2 separate regions of the Homo sapiens genome follow, and region 2 is linked to region 1. Evidence: promoter capture Hi-C in 16 types of primary human blood cells and fetal thymus (Javierre and others, 2016). All regions are on one chromosome and are shown on one strand. Each heading gives the region's core, a stretch centred on a gene start or on the middle of the fragment in contact. The rest is flanking DNA. Distances are from core to core; before and after follow the strand shown. Region 1 holds the start of CLBA1 (clathrin binding box of aftiphilin containing 1). Region 2 overlaps MTA1 (metastasis associated 1).

Region 1 (7,726 bases), core at 3,648-6,147:
CCCCTCTCCTGATTGTCTGGCGTGATCTGCGCAGGGCTACGGGGACTCCCCTTGGCTTTGCGGGATGGGTGAGGATGGAGCCCTGGGTGGGGAAGCCGAGGTTGCCCCCGACATGTCCCTGTCCCTGGGCTACTACCTGCTGCCCCTGCCTCTGTTTTCCTTCAGCAAGATGAGAGAACCCTCCAGGCCATCTTGGTGGGGGCCGAGTGAGAGCGCAAGTTCAGCGTGGCGTCACGGGAGTGTGGGGACCCCACACTTGGGAGGACTTTGCCCTGGTCCTGCCCCTCAGCCTGGGGTGGCTGAGATCTTCCCCTAGCTGTGTCCACTGGGCCTGTCCTCCCCTGGCTAAGAAATGGTCCCAGAACCAACCACAGCTGCCCAGGTCCAGGAACTTTGCCTCTGCCCTGCACGGGGCTGCCCACTTCCAAGGTGGGCACAGACACACACACGCAGCTGCGCCATGCTCCCCTGTGGCCCCAGAATTCAGGATGGGGTCTGGGCAGGGCCTGCTCCACCCGGAGGCCGTCCCTCCCTTCTCCTGCCCACTCTGAGACAGAGGGCTGGTGTCTCTCTGCAGTGGCCTCTGGCTCTGCGCTGCCCTGAGTGCTGGGGCCACAGTCTGGTTGTGACTGTCGGGGAGCTGGGGACTGCCCCTCCCACCCTCCTTCTGGGGGTCTTCTCCTAGCTTGAGGGTTAAGCTGACAGTGTCATGAGTAAGACACCTTGGGGTGTCTGTCCAGAGAGCTTCCCCACCTCAAGGAACCTGGGGTCCTGAGAGCTCTATCTCACTCCAGATGCCTCTGGGAGGGCCTGCAACTTGGGCAGTGTACCCCCACAAACAGGCAGGCTGCGGCTATGTGCAGTTGAGGACTGGCTCCCCAGGGGCCAGCCAGAATCCCTCCTCCCGCCCACCAGGGCCTCAGCAGCTGAAACAGGGGTCCAGGGTCACAGCTGTGGGAGCAGGGGAGAAGATGAGAGGGGCTGCCAGCCCCCATCCCGGGCCCTGCCCGCCAGCTGAAGCCTGCGCTCCTGTCGTCACGCCCAGCTCCAGTTTCCTCCCCATGTGCCCCTCTGAGGACAGATGCCCAGCTAGGGAGGACCACAGAAGCATGCCTGGGCTCAGGAATTCATGCCCCCACCCACAGCATCGCTGGACACAAGCCCAACTCACAGCCGCCCCTGGCACATACAAGGCCCCACACCTGCTGTAGGTGTCACCCCAGGGAGAGGGCATCGCATGCTCTCTCCTGTGCACACAGCCTCCACCTCTTCCCTGGACCACTGAGATGGGGACACTGGCCCAGCCCACTGGTTGCCCACAGCCTTCCTGAGGCTGGGTGCCGGGGCCTGGGTGAGGAGCCGAGGCTCCCCAGGCCCTGATCATCAGCAGAGCCGCTGCCCTGCCCCCATGGCCTGACTGGCGCTGCTTGCCTCCACCCTCTGCAGGCAGGGATGCCCACAGCATCAATGATTGATTCTTGCTGCGGCAGCTGCAGCAACATAAGCAAAAATAGCTCTGCTGTGGTCCCTGCCCCGCCCCAGCCACAGCCTTGCATCCAGCCCAGCCTCGTGCCCAGATGGAGGGGTGTGAGGTGAGGTGGGAGCATCTAGGACTGTCTCAGCCACTGCCTGCCCCTCCTCAGTCTTTTATACGGAGATGATGGGGGAGGACCCCCTGACCAGGTGGGGGACACTTGTCCACCCAGCCTCCCACTCTTGCCTGACCACACTGACTCCTGACCTCTAACCGCCTCACTCTCCCCCAAAGCTGGGTGCCCGTTTCAGGCCTGGGTATTGTCCCCAGGTCCACTTCCTCTGCACCCACACAGCTGGGATCAGGAAATGTGGCAGTGGTGGGGCATGTCAGGGTGCTGCCATCGTTCCACTCGGATGGGTTTCTTCAACCCATGTCTTCATCGGGCTCTCTGGCTCAGCAGTCCGTGTGGGCTAGCCTGGGATCCGAGCAGCAGCAGGTTCCCATGCTGCCGCCTGCAAGCCCTGGCACTCCTGCTGCCAGAGGTGAGGACAGGCACACGCCCCAACTTGCCCTAGGGACTTGGGGCTGAGGATCCCAGAGGACCAGGATGCCTGGGTGCTTCTGGGGACCCCTCCCCAGCCAGTCCTTGCTCATCAGGTGATGCTGGGAGATCCCAAGATGACTGTGGGGCTCTGTGCATAGGTGGCACTTGCCCCAGAACCCAGGCTGGCCCCTTCCTCCTGAGACTAGGGTAGGGAAGCTTGGCTCCTCTGCAGAAGGGAAGGTGCTCCCCACACAGCCATTGAGCAGGGCTGGGGCTCAGGGTGGACCGAGGTGGCTGGAGAGGTCCTGGGAGGGCCACATGGGCTCCTCGTCCCGACCACACTCCACCTGCCCCCTCCATGCCCCTCGGGAGTCATGGCTAATGTCCCCCACACCCAGGCTTTAATGGGAACCCACCCTCTCCGGCCCAGTCTCCCCTAGCAGCTGGGCCAGTTCAATTTGAGCAGTGCCTGCTCCAATCGCCAACCTGGAAGCCTTATCCTCAGCTCGTGCCTTTCAGGCTGTGCCATGAAGCAGGATGGTCTGCCCAGAAGCTGGCCCAAGAAGCCAGCAGCGGCCTAGCAGCCACCTGGGCTGCCCCCACCTCCTCCTGCAACCAGGGTTGGGCACCTGATGTCAAGGTTGCCGCTGCCATTTCCTCTGCACCTTGGCTTCCCCGACGCAGCACTTCTCAGTGGGTCACAAGGGGTCACTCAGGCATATTAGTTCCCTGCTGCTGCCATAACAAAATACCCCCGACACAGTGGTTGAAAACAGCATGTGCGCATTTATCAACTCCAGTTCTAGGTGTGGGCAGGATGGTGTGCCTTCTGGAGGCTTCAGGGGAGATCTGTTTTCTGGTCCCTTCAGCCTCCAGAGGCATCTGCAGTCTCGTATCACTCCGGCTCTGCTTCCATCTTTGCGTCTCCTCTCTGACTCTGACCTTCCTGCTTCCTTCTCAGGACCTTTGTGATTACATGCCTCATCCAGGCTCCACTCCTCCTCTCAAGAGCCTTAATTTAAGCCCATCTATAAAGTGTCTTTGACCCTGTAAGGTCACATAGCCACAGGTTCCAGGGGTTAGGATGTGGACATCTCTGTGGGGCTGTTCAACTGCCACACCAGCTCTTCAACCCATATGGGTCATTTCTATCCTCCAACCACCCTGGGAGTACTGTGCTCCCCACGCTCTTCACGTGGAAGCTGAGGCCCAGACGGGGGTGGGGAATTGCAGAGAACGAGGAGAGCAGCTCCTGTCCCAGCTCTGCTTCTCACGCAGGCCTTTGGGGTGGGGCCTCAGTTTCCCCACCTGTACACAAGGACAACACTCCTCCTGCCCCCCTCCCAGCTCCCTGGGCCTCAAGGACGGCAAGGACGTGCAGTGGATGAGGGGCAGCAGTGGGAACGGACACTGCCCTTAAGCTGGCAAGACAGGCCCAGGCCTGGTCTACAAACCCAGCCAGCTCCTGATCACCATCCTTAGGGTCACTGCGGTGCTGGGGTGGCCAAGCCAAGATCCAGTCCTGGGCAGTCTGACCGAAGAGCTTCCATACTGCATGGCCCGGCTGCTCTGCCCCTCAGGAAGGAGCGGGGACAGGAGGCTGGGTCTAAGGTGCAGAGAATGATCTCATCTTGTCATTTGTAAAATTAAATTGTTCTGTAGCTTGGCTGAGAAGGACCAGGGAGGGAAGGGGTGATTCAAGCAAGGACAGAGTCCAGGCAGGGCCCCAGGCCCCAGGGTGGGAGAAATGCGAGCCTGAGGTAGATAGGGGGTGGACAGTAGGTGGCATGGTTCAGGGCTTCACCAGGGCCAGGCCCTCCCCTTACCCAGAGGAGGCAGTGATGGGGGCCAGTCTGGGAAGGCCAGGGAGGAGATGGAGTCAAGGTTGACTCCTTGAGTCTGGGGGTGAGGGCAGATGGCAGAAGGCCTGGAAGCCCGGAGGGGAGCTGCCAGAGGCCAGCCTAGCTCCTTGGTCGTCCAGTGGCTGGAGAGGGGCTGTCCGTCAGCCCTGCTCTGCCCGGGTCTGGCTGGTGACAAAGGAGGGGAGCACTCCATGCGGCCTGCGAGGGAGGGGTGGAGCCTCCCCGCAGCTCCTTCCCCCAGGAATGGGGACGAGTTAGGGGCGGGCGAGGTTTTGGGATTCAGGAGTCAGCAAGACGGACTTGGCTCTCGCCAGGGACAGGTGGGGTCCTGAGGGGCCGTCGCTCAGCTGCACCCACAGAGGGGTCGGCGGCGCGGCAAGTTAGGCTGCGGGGCGCCGGGAGAAGGGGCTGCGGGTGACGGGTGCGCTGGGACGGACCTGGGGAGCTCGTCGTGAGGAAGAAAGAACCACTCTAGGGCCAGGCCCAGTGGCTCAAGCCTGTAATCCCAGCACTTTGGGAGGCCGAGGCGGGCGGATCACGAGGTCAGGAAATCGAGACCATCCTGGCTAACACGGTGAAACCCAGTCTCTATTAAAATACAAAAAAATCAGCCGGGCGTGGTGGCGGGCGCCTGTAGTCCCAGCTACTCGGGAGGCTGAGGCAGGAGAATGGCGTGAACCCGGGAGGCGGAGCTTGCAGTGAGTCGAGATCGCGCCACTGCTCTCCAGCCTGGGCGACAGAGCGAGACTCCGTCTCAAAAAAAAAAGAAAAAAAAAAAAAAGAAAGAACCACTCGGGCGGCGAACTGAGCACGGACAGAAAGCTCGAGCGGCCCGGCGCCCAGGGCTCGGCCAGTGTGGAAGCCCGATCCCACCCGCAGCGGAGGCGGCCCGGGGCAGGGAGGGCGGGTCCGGGGCGGGTCCTGAACGGCGGGGGCCGGCGCTGGCCTCGCCCCGGATGCGTGCTGACGCCACGGCGACGGACGCCGGAAGCGGAGCTGGCGCACGCCGTTGCCAGGCAACGGGGCGGCGCAGGCAGGAGGGAACGGCTGGTTGCAGGTTTCTCTCGCCCTGGTCCCGCGCGGCCCCGCCGAGGCGGCGACCAAGGTGGGTGCGGGGACTCTCGGGAGCCGTGGGCCAGGCGCTTAGCCGGCCACCTCGGGCCCTGTCCAGGCCCAGGCGTTCCAGGGCTGCTCTGCGGGCCGCGTGCGAGAGGGACTCTCGGGAGGCCCCGGGGCGCCGCACCCACTCCTTCCCACTTGGGACTCCCGCGGGCGCCCGGCTCTCGCTCCTCTGGCCAGCGTGGGCCTCCCAGGCCCCCTCGCGGCTCTCTCCAGAGCAGGAGCCCCACCTTGGGCCGCCCCTCTCACACCTGCCGTGGGTCTGGTACGCGCCTCTGTGTCGGACTCCGCGCCCGCCTGCGTGGGAGGAAGCCAGGACTCCCGGGCGACCGGGCCATTCCTGTGGTTTGTGTCAGTTCCACAGCAGCACGTGGGCACTTTCCACCGTCAGCCACTGGGCAGCCCGGGGCACTCCTGCAGCGTCCCCTGGCCCTCTCCAGGGCAGGGGAAGGTTGGGCAGTCCTGGGCGGCCAGCACCCCGGCGTGCATGTCTCCTGAGCAGCTGCCCATCGGGCCTCTGCTGGCCTGGGGGCTCCAAGATGCAAGGCCGGCGGGAGCTGGGGGGAGAGCCTTTGAGTGACCTCCAGGAGGAAGCAGCCAGCGCTTCCCTCCGAGTGGCACCTGAGAGGCTGAGTGATGACAGTTTGGAATGGAGACGGACCTGCCCCGACCTTCTCCTGTCCGATGGGAAAGCCAGCATCTCCATGCCCCGTGAGGGCGGTTCCACCTGCACTGCCCGATGTCCTGACCCTGGGGAACACAGCAGCACTTGGGGGGAGTTTGAAGGCTTTCGGGAATCTTCAGCCAAGTCTGGACAATTCTCACAGTCCCTTGAACTCCTCGAGGGACCCACAGAACCCCAGCCACCGAGAACCACTTCTGCCCCAAAAGAGTGCAGTTCTCACCAACCATGCCAGGGTGGACCTTGGGTGACAGGAACTTCTGCCGTCCCACCTTCTGAGGTATTTCTGCTGTGCTGTGGTCACCATGTTGAGTGGGACGTGTACACACCAAGAGGCCTACAGCCCTCGAATGCTGTGGCGTGCTGGCCAGGGAGGGGGCTGACAGCCCCAGAGCGTCTGCTTCTCTCCTGGCCTTCGTCCCTGGCCATGTGGTTGGCAGTCCCATCCTGAGGCCAGGGAAGCAATGAGTTGGCAGAGGAGGCTGCAGAAATGGGTCACACGAAGGCCAGGTGGGGGCCACCTGAGCTGGGTCGCTCTTTCTGACCATTCCTCCCCCAGCCTGTCCATTCCCCATTGGTGGGGGCTGCACTGGCCCCAGCTCAGGGCATTTGAGGAGGAGCTTTTTGTCTGAATTCTGAATCTGCTGAGTTCAAAAGTCTCAGAGATTCTAAAATCACATGATCACATTTCAACTTGCTTGTAATGAATTGGGTGACGCGGGATCCAACCTGTCCGGGAGCTTGTAATGAATTGGGTGATGCCCATTCCGACCTGTCCGGGAGCCAGGGTCCCAGCCTTCAGGCCCCTGCCCCCTGCTCTCTTTCAGAGCAGACTGTGGGTGTTTACCGTTTGGTGACACTTCCGCTCCTTCTCTTTTCCTGTCTTCTTCCTTCCATTGTTCCTCTTTCTCTGCCACTTCTTCCCAAATGGTTCATCCCAAGCACCATCATGAGAGATCAGAAATAAAACCAGTGAGGAAGGAAATAAAGATATTGTAGTTCTCAGGGCTGGCCTGTTTTCTCTTCCTTTTCTTTTTTTTTTTTTTTTTTTTTTTTTTTTTTTGAGACAGCCTCACTCTGTCGCTGAGGCTGGAGTGCAGTGGCACTGTGTCGGCTCACTGCAACCTCTGTCTCCTGGGTTCAAGCAGTTCTCCTGCCTTAGCCTCCTGAGTAGCTGGGATTACAGGCATCCACCACCACGCCCGGCTAACTTTTTATATATATATATATATATGTATGTTTAGTAGAGACTGGGTTTTACCATGTTTGCCAGGCTGGTCTTGAACTCCTGACCTCAGGTGATCCGCCCGCCTCGGCCTCTCAAAGTGCTGGGATTACAGGCGTGAGCCACCATGCCCGGCCGGACTGTTTTCTGAAGCAGTTTCCCTGGAATCCTGATGAGATCCACTCTTAATAGAGTAAGGTCTGCTGTAATGCTTGTTTTGAATACAGGATTTGTTTTCCAGCGTGATTGATGTATTAGGGAACAATTAGAGCATAGTTGAAATTTCACAAGAAAGAGTAGATAAATGCAGAAAACTGCCCCCAGCTGAGCTGGGGCCCGTTGGAATACATGAGACTCGCACACGTACACCCTCACACAGCGCTTAGTGCCCCAATGTAGCACACCTGTCAACACCTGGTGTTAGGACTTCACCCGGTTCAGACCACCCTCCTCCTACCCCTTCACACTAACTCAGCCTGCGAGCCTTTGTCTTTTCCAAGGTAAAGTGCTGTGCTTACTGTAGTATGTATAATTTCTTTTTTTTTTTTTTTGAGACGGAGTCTCTCTCTGTCACCCAGGCTGGAGTGCAGTGGCACAATCTCGGCTCACTGCAACTTCTGCCCCCCACCCGCCGGATTCAAGCGATTCTCCTGCCTCAGCCTCCTAAGTAGCTGGGATTATAGGCGTGTACCACCACACCCAGCTAATTTTTGTATTTTTAGTAGAGATGGGGGTTTCACCATGTTGGCCAGGCTGGTCTCGAACTCCTGACCTCGTGATCTGCCCACCTGGGGCTCCCAAAGTGCTGGGATTACAG
Region 2 (7,726 bases), core at 811-3,310, 480 kb after region 1:
ACCCCGGCGCTGCCAGGCAACATGAAGAAGCGCCTCTTGATGCCCAGTAGGGGTAAGGCCTGGAGCCGCGGGCGGGCGCTGCGCCGGCCCCGCCCGTGATGCCTGTGCTGTGCTGCTCTGTGTCCCCGCGGCGGGCGGCCCAGGGCCCATGCTTGGGGCAGTCCACGTGAGCCAGGCCACAGCCCAGTTCCCCACATTCCTCCCGACATCACTGGTCCCTTGGTGAAGACCCCCCGAGCCCAGGCATCTGGCCCTCGGCCCCCTGGCCCCGCCTCCTGTCAGTGGACTGTCCTGGCACGTGTGGCCCTGGCGCCCCTGCCTGCGCTGTCTGCCATCGCGCTGTGACTGCCCGCATGCTGCCAGCCTCAGCTCGTGGGGCCGCCCGTGCTGTGCCTGCAATCCTTCCGTGCGCCTGCCAGGCGGGACAGTGGGGAGGGTGGTCGGGGGTGTCTGTGTGGGCCGTGGGCAACTGAGCTTGTACACATGGGTGCCTTCTGTCGGAGGACTGGCTCAGGTGCTCTGTGCCGGTTGCTTGGAGCAGGGGCTGCGGGACCCCAGGCCCCTTGGGGAAGAGCAGATAGGACCAAGCCTAGCATGAGGAGGCCAGGTGTGTGGGGCCCGGGTGTGCAAGTGCTGGGCCTGCCAGTGTGGATGTGCCTGGAGCCCCTTCGCCAGGCGGCTTTCACTGACGGTGCTGGCCAGGGCAGCAGGGCCGGTTTGGCGACCTGGAGGTGGATATGGGTAGTGGCTGCCCAGCCCAGCCAACCCTGTCCCCTTGGGGCATTCTCTCGAGGCTGCTGGGTGTCCTGGCAGGCACGTCCTGTGGGGTCAGCACGCCGGCTGCAGCGCAGGGTGGGCCTGAGATCGGGTGCCGGGCCCCCCATCTCCACCTGTCTGGACACGCACCCCTGGCCTGTCCTTGCAGCTTCCTCCCGACATCCCTTGGCGGTGTCTGTGTCTCGGCCCCAGCCCCAGCCCTCCTTTCCTGGGGCACCCTCCCAGCCATCTGGTATTGGGGCTGCCCCCATTGCCTAGTCCTGGGCCCAGGGCCAGCCCACTCTGGGCTGGCTTTACTTGTCTGTTCCTAATGGCAGGGCGTCCCAGGAACAGCCCCATAAGAGCTGGTAGAAACAGGAGGGAGTCCTTGTCAGCAGGCATCTTCGAGCTTTTTGTTTTGTTTTGTAAAAAGCGGTTAACCAGCAAGTTACATAAAAGCTTATTTGTTCCCACTGAATTTTCCACACCTCACACGTGAGTCCCAGCCATGCAGTGCTTGTGAGGGAGCATCACCCCTTGCCGCCTGGCTGGGCGGGGCCCTGGGCTCAGAGGGGTCAGCCACAGAGGAAGCGCCTGTCCTGACGTGTAGCGGCCAGGACCTGGGCGCTGGAGAGGGGCCAGCTGGGTGAAGACGGCTCCCGGGGGCACTGGCGCACACGAGGTGGGGTCTCTGTCCAGCCTGGGTAGGCATGAGCTGAGCTCGAGTGAGGGCCCTGCCTGCCCACAGCACGGGGCCCCAGCGCTCTAACCCGGCCATTTGCCCGTGCAGCCTGTTGCGCTGTCCCCACCTGCGGGGCCTGCAGATGGCTGCGTGTGGCTCACTAACCTAAAGCATGTGTTTCTTCCCTCTGCTGTCCACCGCTCTGGTAGGCACTTACCTGGGTAAGTAGTTTTTGTGCTACTGGCCAGCCCTGGGCGCTGGGCCTTGGCTTGTGGCAGGTGCCCTGAGGTATGGCTGTTCCTGCTTGGGAGCGCCGCAGATCAGGCACCTGGGCCCCCACCTGACCCTGCCCGGCAGAGCTAAGCAAACTGGCAGGGAAAGGCTGACCCAGGGCTCCAGGGCCCCAGTTGGCCCCCAGGGGAGTGCCCCAAGTTAGGAGGCAACTGCAGGTGGGGAGGGGCTGGACAGGCTGCTTCTGTTCCTTAAGGGATGGGCCTCAGCTAAGCAGCGTTTCTGGAGCTGGCAGGTTGCTCCGATGCCCCTGGGCCCTGGCACCTGACTGAGTTGAGTATGACATCCTGTCCTCTCTGAGCTGGTCCTGCTGGGAGCCGAGCCATCCTGGGACCAGCTCCCACATGCACACGCCCACACCTACACACAGGGCAGTGGGGAAGGGCAGTGAGTGGGGGAGGGCAGCGGCGGTCCTGGGCCCAGCTGGGGGTGACCAGGAGCATGGACCCCGCTTCTTGGCCCAACTCCCGCAGTGCCCCTTGGGCTCCTCACCCTGCACTGTGGGAAGTCAGAGGCCTCTGGCACCCCATCCCCAAGCACATGCCAGGGTGGCTGGGGCCCAGCCAGGGCAGTGGGTGGTGACCTGTTTCTGGCCGGGGCTGGCGGCTCTCTCAGAGCCTTAGGAAAAAGCCCGGCCTCCTGGTGGGGCAGTGCCGGCCACAGCGTGGCTGCCCTGCAGAGGGGCTTGTGCCGCTGCTGGACTGACAGCCTTGCGAGGCTTTGCTTGTCTCGGCACGGCAGGCAAGTGGGTGGACAGCCCCGGCCCCTGTGCAGGGAGGTGACTGTCGGGTCCAAGGCTCCTGGCCTCCTGCCTGGAGCCCAAGCCAATGTGTCTCTTGCTGGCCAGAGAGCTGTGGGGCCACCAGGCGGCCCAGGACCCGGGGATGCGAGGCCCCACGTCCCCCAGGCCCATCCTGGGTGTGGGCTGTGGCTTGGTTGGCAGATGGCCCCGGCCCATTGTCCCAAGGTGGCTGAGGCCGTGGTGGGCGGTGGGAGTGCAGGACGCGCTCTCTCGGGGCCTCATTTCTCTCCTCCATTTCTCATCAGGTCTGGCAAACCACGGACAGGCCAGGCACATGGTAAGAGGAACAACCCATGATGGGGTACGGTGCGCTCACCCATGAGCTCTCTGGGGTGTTGGGAAGAGGCCTGGCCAGCCCTGCCAGGTGCCACGTGGAAGCTTCCAGGAGGCCTGGCAAGACCAGAGGGGCTGCAGCATGTGGGGGCCATGGCCCCTGTGCCAGGCCCAGCGGTGTGCGGCCGACCAGCCCTCAGGGCTGCCCTGGGCCAGGCTGGGGGTCCGTGTAACTCACTGGGGTGGTGGGGGGTTGGCCAGGCACAGCACCTCCCAGCGGGAGCCCTGCAGGTTGAGGTGGAGCTGGCCCTTGGCTGGCTGCCCAGGAAGTGCACCCCCTCTGCAGGGACCAAGCCGGAACCTCCTGCTCAACGGGAAGTCCTACCCCACCAAAGTGCGCCTGATCCGGGGGGGCTCCCTGCCCCCAGTCAAGCGGCGGCGGATGAACTGGATCGACGCCCCGGATGACGTGTTCTACATGGCCACAGAGGAGACCAGGTGGGGCCTTCCCAGGGCAGGCGGGAGGGCTCCGCACAGCGTCCCGGCCCTCACCACCACCTCTGCCCACAGGAAGATCCGCAAGCTGCTCTCATCCTCGGAAACCAAGCGTGCTGCCCGCCGGCCCTACAAGCCCATCGCCCTGCGCCAGAGCCAGGCCCTGCCGCCGCGGCCACCGCCACCTGCGCCCGTCAACGACGAGCCCATCGTCATCGAGGACTAGGGGCCGCCCCCACCTGCGGCCGCCCCCCGCCCCTCGCCCGCCCACACGGCCCCTTCCCAGCCAGCCCGCCGCCCGCCCCTCAGTTTGGTAGTGCCCCACCTCCCGCCCTCACCTGCAGAGAAACGCGCTCCTTGGCGGACACTGGGGGAGGAGAGGAAGAAGCGCGGCTAACTTATTCCGAGAATGCCGAGGAGTTGTCGTTTTTAGCTTTGTGTTTACTTTTTGGCTGGAGCGGAGATGAGGGGCCACCCCGTGCCCCTGTGCTGCGGGGCCTTTTGCCCGGAGGCCGGGCCCTAAGGTTTTGTTGTGTTCTGTTGAAGGTGCCATTTTAAATTTTATTTTTATTACTTTTTTTGTAGATGAACTTGAGCTCTGTAACTTACACCTGGAATGTTAGGATCGTGCGGCCGCGGCCGGCCGAGCTGCCTGGCGGGGTTGGCCCTTGTCTTTTCAAGTAATTTTCATATTAAACAAAAACAAAGAAAAAAAATCTTATAAAAAGGAAAAAAACCAACCGGTCCTTCCCTGTGTCTTTTGTTCCCAGTCCCTCTCCCTGACTCAGGCCCTGGGCCCCCCACCCCCATCGGGCGGCCCTAGGCTGTGGCTCTGCCGTGGAGCTGGAGGCCCCTGGAGGCCACCTCAGCCAGGACAGCCACCCCAGCCTCTGGGCTCTGTTGCTCTCCCACCTGCCCACAGACCTTCCCCTGCTGGGGCCTGGCGCGGTGCCCTCTGCCCTCCCCAGGGGGCAGCAAGCGGTTGCAGGGCCCAACCCCCTTCCCCAGCAGAGCTGTGCTGAAACCGTCTGTGCGTCTGTGTCTGCGGCAGCGGTGGGCCGGGGACTGCCTCCCGGCAGGCAGAGCTGGCCCTGCCGAAGACCCTGTGGCTTCCCACCAGGGCAGCCAGTGCAGCTGGGCCAGCGAGGCCTTGGAGTGCTCCAGCCAGAGGCCCAACCTCCTGGCCATGTAGAGCCTGGCCCCAGCCGCCTGAGGGTTTCTGCCCAGAGCTCTGGCCCCCAAGCAGGTGTGCAGTCTCCACAGTGAGAATCTGCTTAGATTTCTGCAAGCACATTCTCAGAAATCCTGCTTGGCCCATCCTCCGGCCGGGGACAGGACTTGCAGGCCGGGGGACAGGTACAGGCCGGGCCACCAGAAGGAGGGGTCCGGTGGATAGCCTGGCTCCAGACCACCCCCCTGGCCGTGCTACCTCAGCCGGCCAGGAGGGGTCCGCCCAGGCCTCGCTCAGGGAGAGTAGCTCCTCTGTCTCTCCCCAGAGCTGTGCCTTTGCTCCCCCAGCCCACCCAGGCGCCCTGTCATGTGGAAATCTCAGCCACGGAATTAAAATAGAAACCACTTCTGCTGTCTCCCAGGAGACAAAGATAAGGGGGCGTCCTGGCCTCCGTGGGAGCCTGTGCTGGGGCCCAGCAGTGACAGGACTAGGTGTCAGGGACTCGGCTGCAGTGCACGTCCCACCCACCCTCCCTGGGCTGTGGCGCCCCCCCACCCAACCCCAGCCCCCACCAGCCAACTCTAATCTGCAGCCAGCATCCGAGTGACCCCACAGCCTGAGGACTTGCCTGTAGTGCGTCATCAGACGGCTGGGAAATCAGGCCCCTGACCTCATGAAGGACACAGCTCCCTCTGAGGCCTTTTCCAACCCTGGGGGTCTGGAGCTCAGTGAAGACCCCAGCTCCCTTGTCTCCCTTCCCCAGGCCTCGGGCTTGCCTCCCAGTGCTGGCTGCAGGGTTCTGGCCTCAGCAGCTCTTCCACCCCCCAGGGCCTGTCCTTTTCTGGAGTCAACATGTGGGCTGTGAGGTGTCCTAGGTCCTGGGCTCTATCCCAAGGGCAGGGAGGCCCTGAGGAGATGTGGGGCCCTTTCCCACCCCAGACACCCTCCCCGGCCAGACACCCAGGCTGCAGTGCCCTCACAGGGCCAAGCTCTGGCCACCGGTGCTGGGTGGGGCCTGGGCTGCTTGTGGGTCTAAACCTGGGCTTAGAAGTGAGTGGGTACCGGCTGGGGGGAGCATTGGCCTTGGTGCCCAGGCCATGAAGGGGTCTCCCAGCTTTGCTATGTCCTCGTTAGGCCCTTCCCTGCTGATGAGACAGCAGCCTGCTTTCTGCACCAGCAACCCCACAGGGGCCGCGGCTCCCCAGGGCCAGGGGCATCTCAGGGTGGCAAGGCCATCATGCTGTCATGCCTGGAGACCTGTCCTGCCAGCTCCGCTCCACCCTGCTAGGGTCCTCTGTCCACCACTCAGCCCAGCCTGGCTTCCCTGCAGTGGAGCTGAGTAGCAGGGGCCTGCTATCTGCCAGTGTCACAGGATGGCGGAAGGGACCAGACCACTGCAGCCCAGGGGTGTGACCCAGCCCCATGCCCAGCCATCAGCCCTGCCAGCTCCCTTCACACCCGCCGTGTCCTGTGCCCCCCTCTCCACTCGGGCCCGTCCCACTGTGTCACTGCCCCTGCCTGTGACCCACCGCAGCCTCAGAGGTGGAGACCAAGGCCACTGCTCTGCACCCATTGATCCTGACCCCTGCCTGCCAGGCCCAGAATAGCCCCGTCGCATTAGGGAGCTTCTGGCCGCTGCCCAGGGACTGCGGCTGGGGTGAGGGCAGTGCAGCAGCTGGCACACTCCTTGTCCCACCCCACCCTCCGTGTGTCTCCAGGGCACCTGGCCAGTGCCGAATGCCATTCCTTTGCTGCCACCCTGGGAGGGGCCTGCCTCTACCCCCATCCACTCTTCTGGCAGGGCTGGGGACCTTGGGGCAGGTGGTCTCCCTCCAGAAGAGCCCTGTGTTCAGCCAGCCCTGTCCTCCAGAGCAAGCCCCACAGGTAGCAAGCCCCACAGGTAGCAAAGTCAGGGAGGGTAATGGCTTAGCCCCAGGCTCCCAAGCTGGGCAGAACAGGGCAGGGAGCTGGAGAGGGTTTGGCAGTGGGCCCATGAATCCAGCCTGGGCAAGGCCCTGCTGTGAGGGACCCCTAGGGACCCCTGGGCCTGCCAGGGAGGAAGGGCTGCCCAGAAAAGGTACTGACTGATGCCTCCTCACCATCTTCTGCCTTGGCTGGCACAGGTCCCAAGTGCAGAGGGGGAGCTGGTCAGGCTGGTCAGTCGGGCGGGGGGGCGGGGGGCATGTTTCTGGCCTGCTGTCACCATGGAAATGGCAGTGGCTGCAGGGTGTGTGTGCAAGGGAGGAGGGTGCTGCCACAGAGAGCCCAGCCAGGACCACCATGAAAGCCAGGAGCACCGAGGGCCTCTGGTTGGCTCACAAACATGCCTGGTGCACCAGGCAGAGGGAACAGGTAGGTCTCCGTGTCCAGCCCACAGCCTCCAAGACACAGGGGGAAGGGTGTCCAGAGTCAGCTGCCCCCATAGGGCCTGATCACTGGGCTTCTGGGATCTGCCTGTCTCCCAGGCCGACGCTCAGCTGGGGCCAGAAGGCTCAGAGAAGGGCCCATGGGGACAGAGCACCAGGAAGCCCGTGGGTGCGGAGGTTCCCCACCTGGGGCCAGGCTCTACGGGGCTCTAGGGCGGAGGCACTGTGGTGAGGCGTGGTCAGGCACGCCCTGGTTGGGAGGAGGCCAGAGTGGGGGTGTGGGGGTGCGGTGACTGGCATGACCCCTCAATCTCCCGCCTGACCCCTCGAGGTCAGGCCCTGGGCCCCCAGGCACGCAGCTGGTCCTGGGCGGTGCGGGAGAAGGGACTGGAGTGTCAGCCCCAGCCCGGGGCACAGAGGGCACGCCCACTCCTTCCCCTCCTTCCCTTCCTAACTCCTCACCGCCTCCCCGGCCGCCCCCTGGGTGGAAGTGCTTGGGGTGGACGCCTTAAGCGCGGATCCCTCGGCGCTGGTGCCCGCCGCCCCTTCCCTGCCTGGGAGGCAGACGCAGACCTCCCCACACCCCCTACCAGCAGCTTCTCGAGCTGTTTCTGGAGGTGGCGGCGCCTTCCTTCCTGAGCCCTGCCCTCCACCCAAGGAGCCTTCAGCACCACAGACAGTGTTGGGGCGGGGCGCGGGCGGGGGCGGAGCGGGACATGGAGACCCGGACAGGGCTGGGGGCCGTGCCCGCCGGGAATCTGACTCCGCTCCCGCGGCGCGGCTGTTGCTATGGAAACCGAGCAACAAAGGGAAGCGGGACAGGCGCCGCGCGCGGCGGGGTGGGGGTGGGGTTCTCCCGGAGCCTGCGACCCCTTCCCGCGGCGGAGCGC

The links. Contacts are between HindIII fragments. The CHiCAGO score rates a contact against its expected background, and 5 or more counts as called.
Region 2: a fragment that was not itself captured here is called in contact with the fragment with the promoter of CLBA1 in region 1 in 1 of 17 cell types (neutrophils); the score reaches 5.1 in neutrophils.

Annotation. Positions count from the first base shown.
Region 1 is chr14:104,980,891-104,988,616 of GRCh38, forward strand. It overlaps CLBA1 (clathrin binding box of aftiphilin containing 1), which reads left to right and starts at 4,898. Exons shown (of 5, transcript NM_174891.4): 1 at 4,898-5,964. The coding sequence starts at 5,542. RefSeq lists a silencer at 4,687-5,156. The HindIII fragment of the contact is 10,527 bases long and covers 2,236-7,726 here.
Region 2 is chr14:105,466,691-105,474,416 of GRCh38, forward strand. It overlaps MTA1 (metastasis associated 1), which reads left to right. Exons shown (of 21, transcript NM_004689.4): 18 at 17-52; 19 at 2,777-2,808; 20 at 3,151-3,302; 21 at 3,375-4,039. The coding sequence ends at 3,525. It also overlaps a transcript of CRIP2 not described here. Among named protein-coding and RNA genes, the nearest start is that of CRIP2, 4.3 kb to the right of the region's middle. RefSeq lists enhancers at 4,154-5,017, 6,573-7,105 and silencers at 7,134-7,183, 7,194-7,283, 7,374-7,523. The HindIII fragment of the contact is 1,694 bases long and covers 1,214-2,907 here.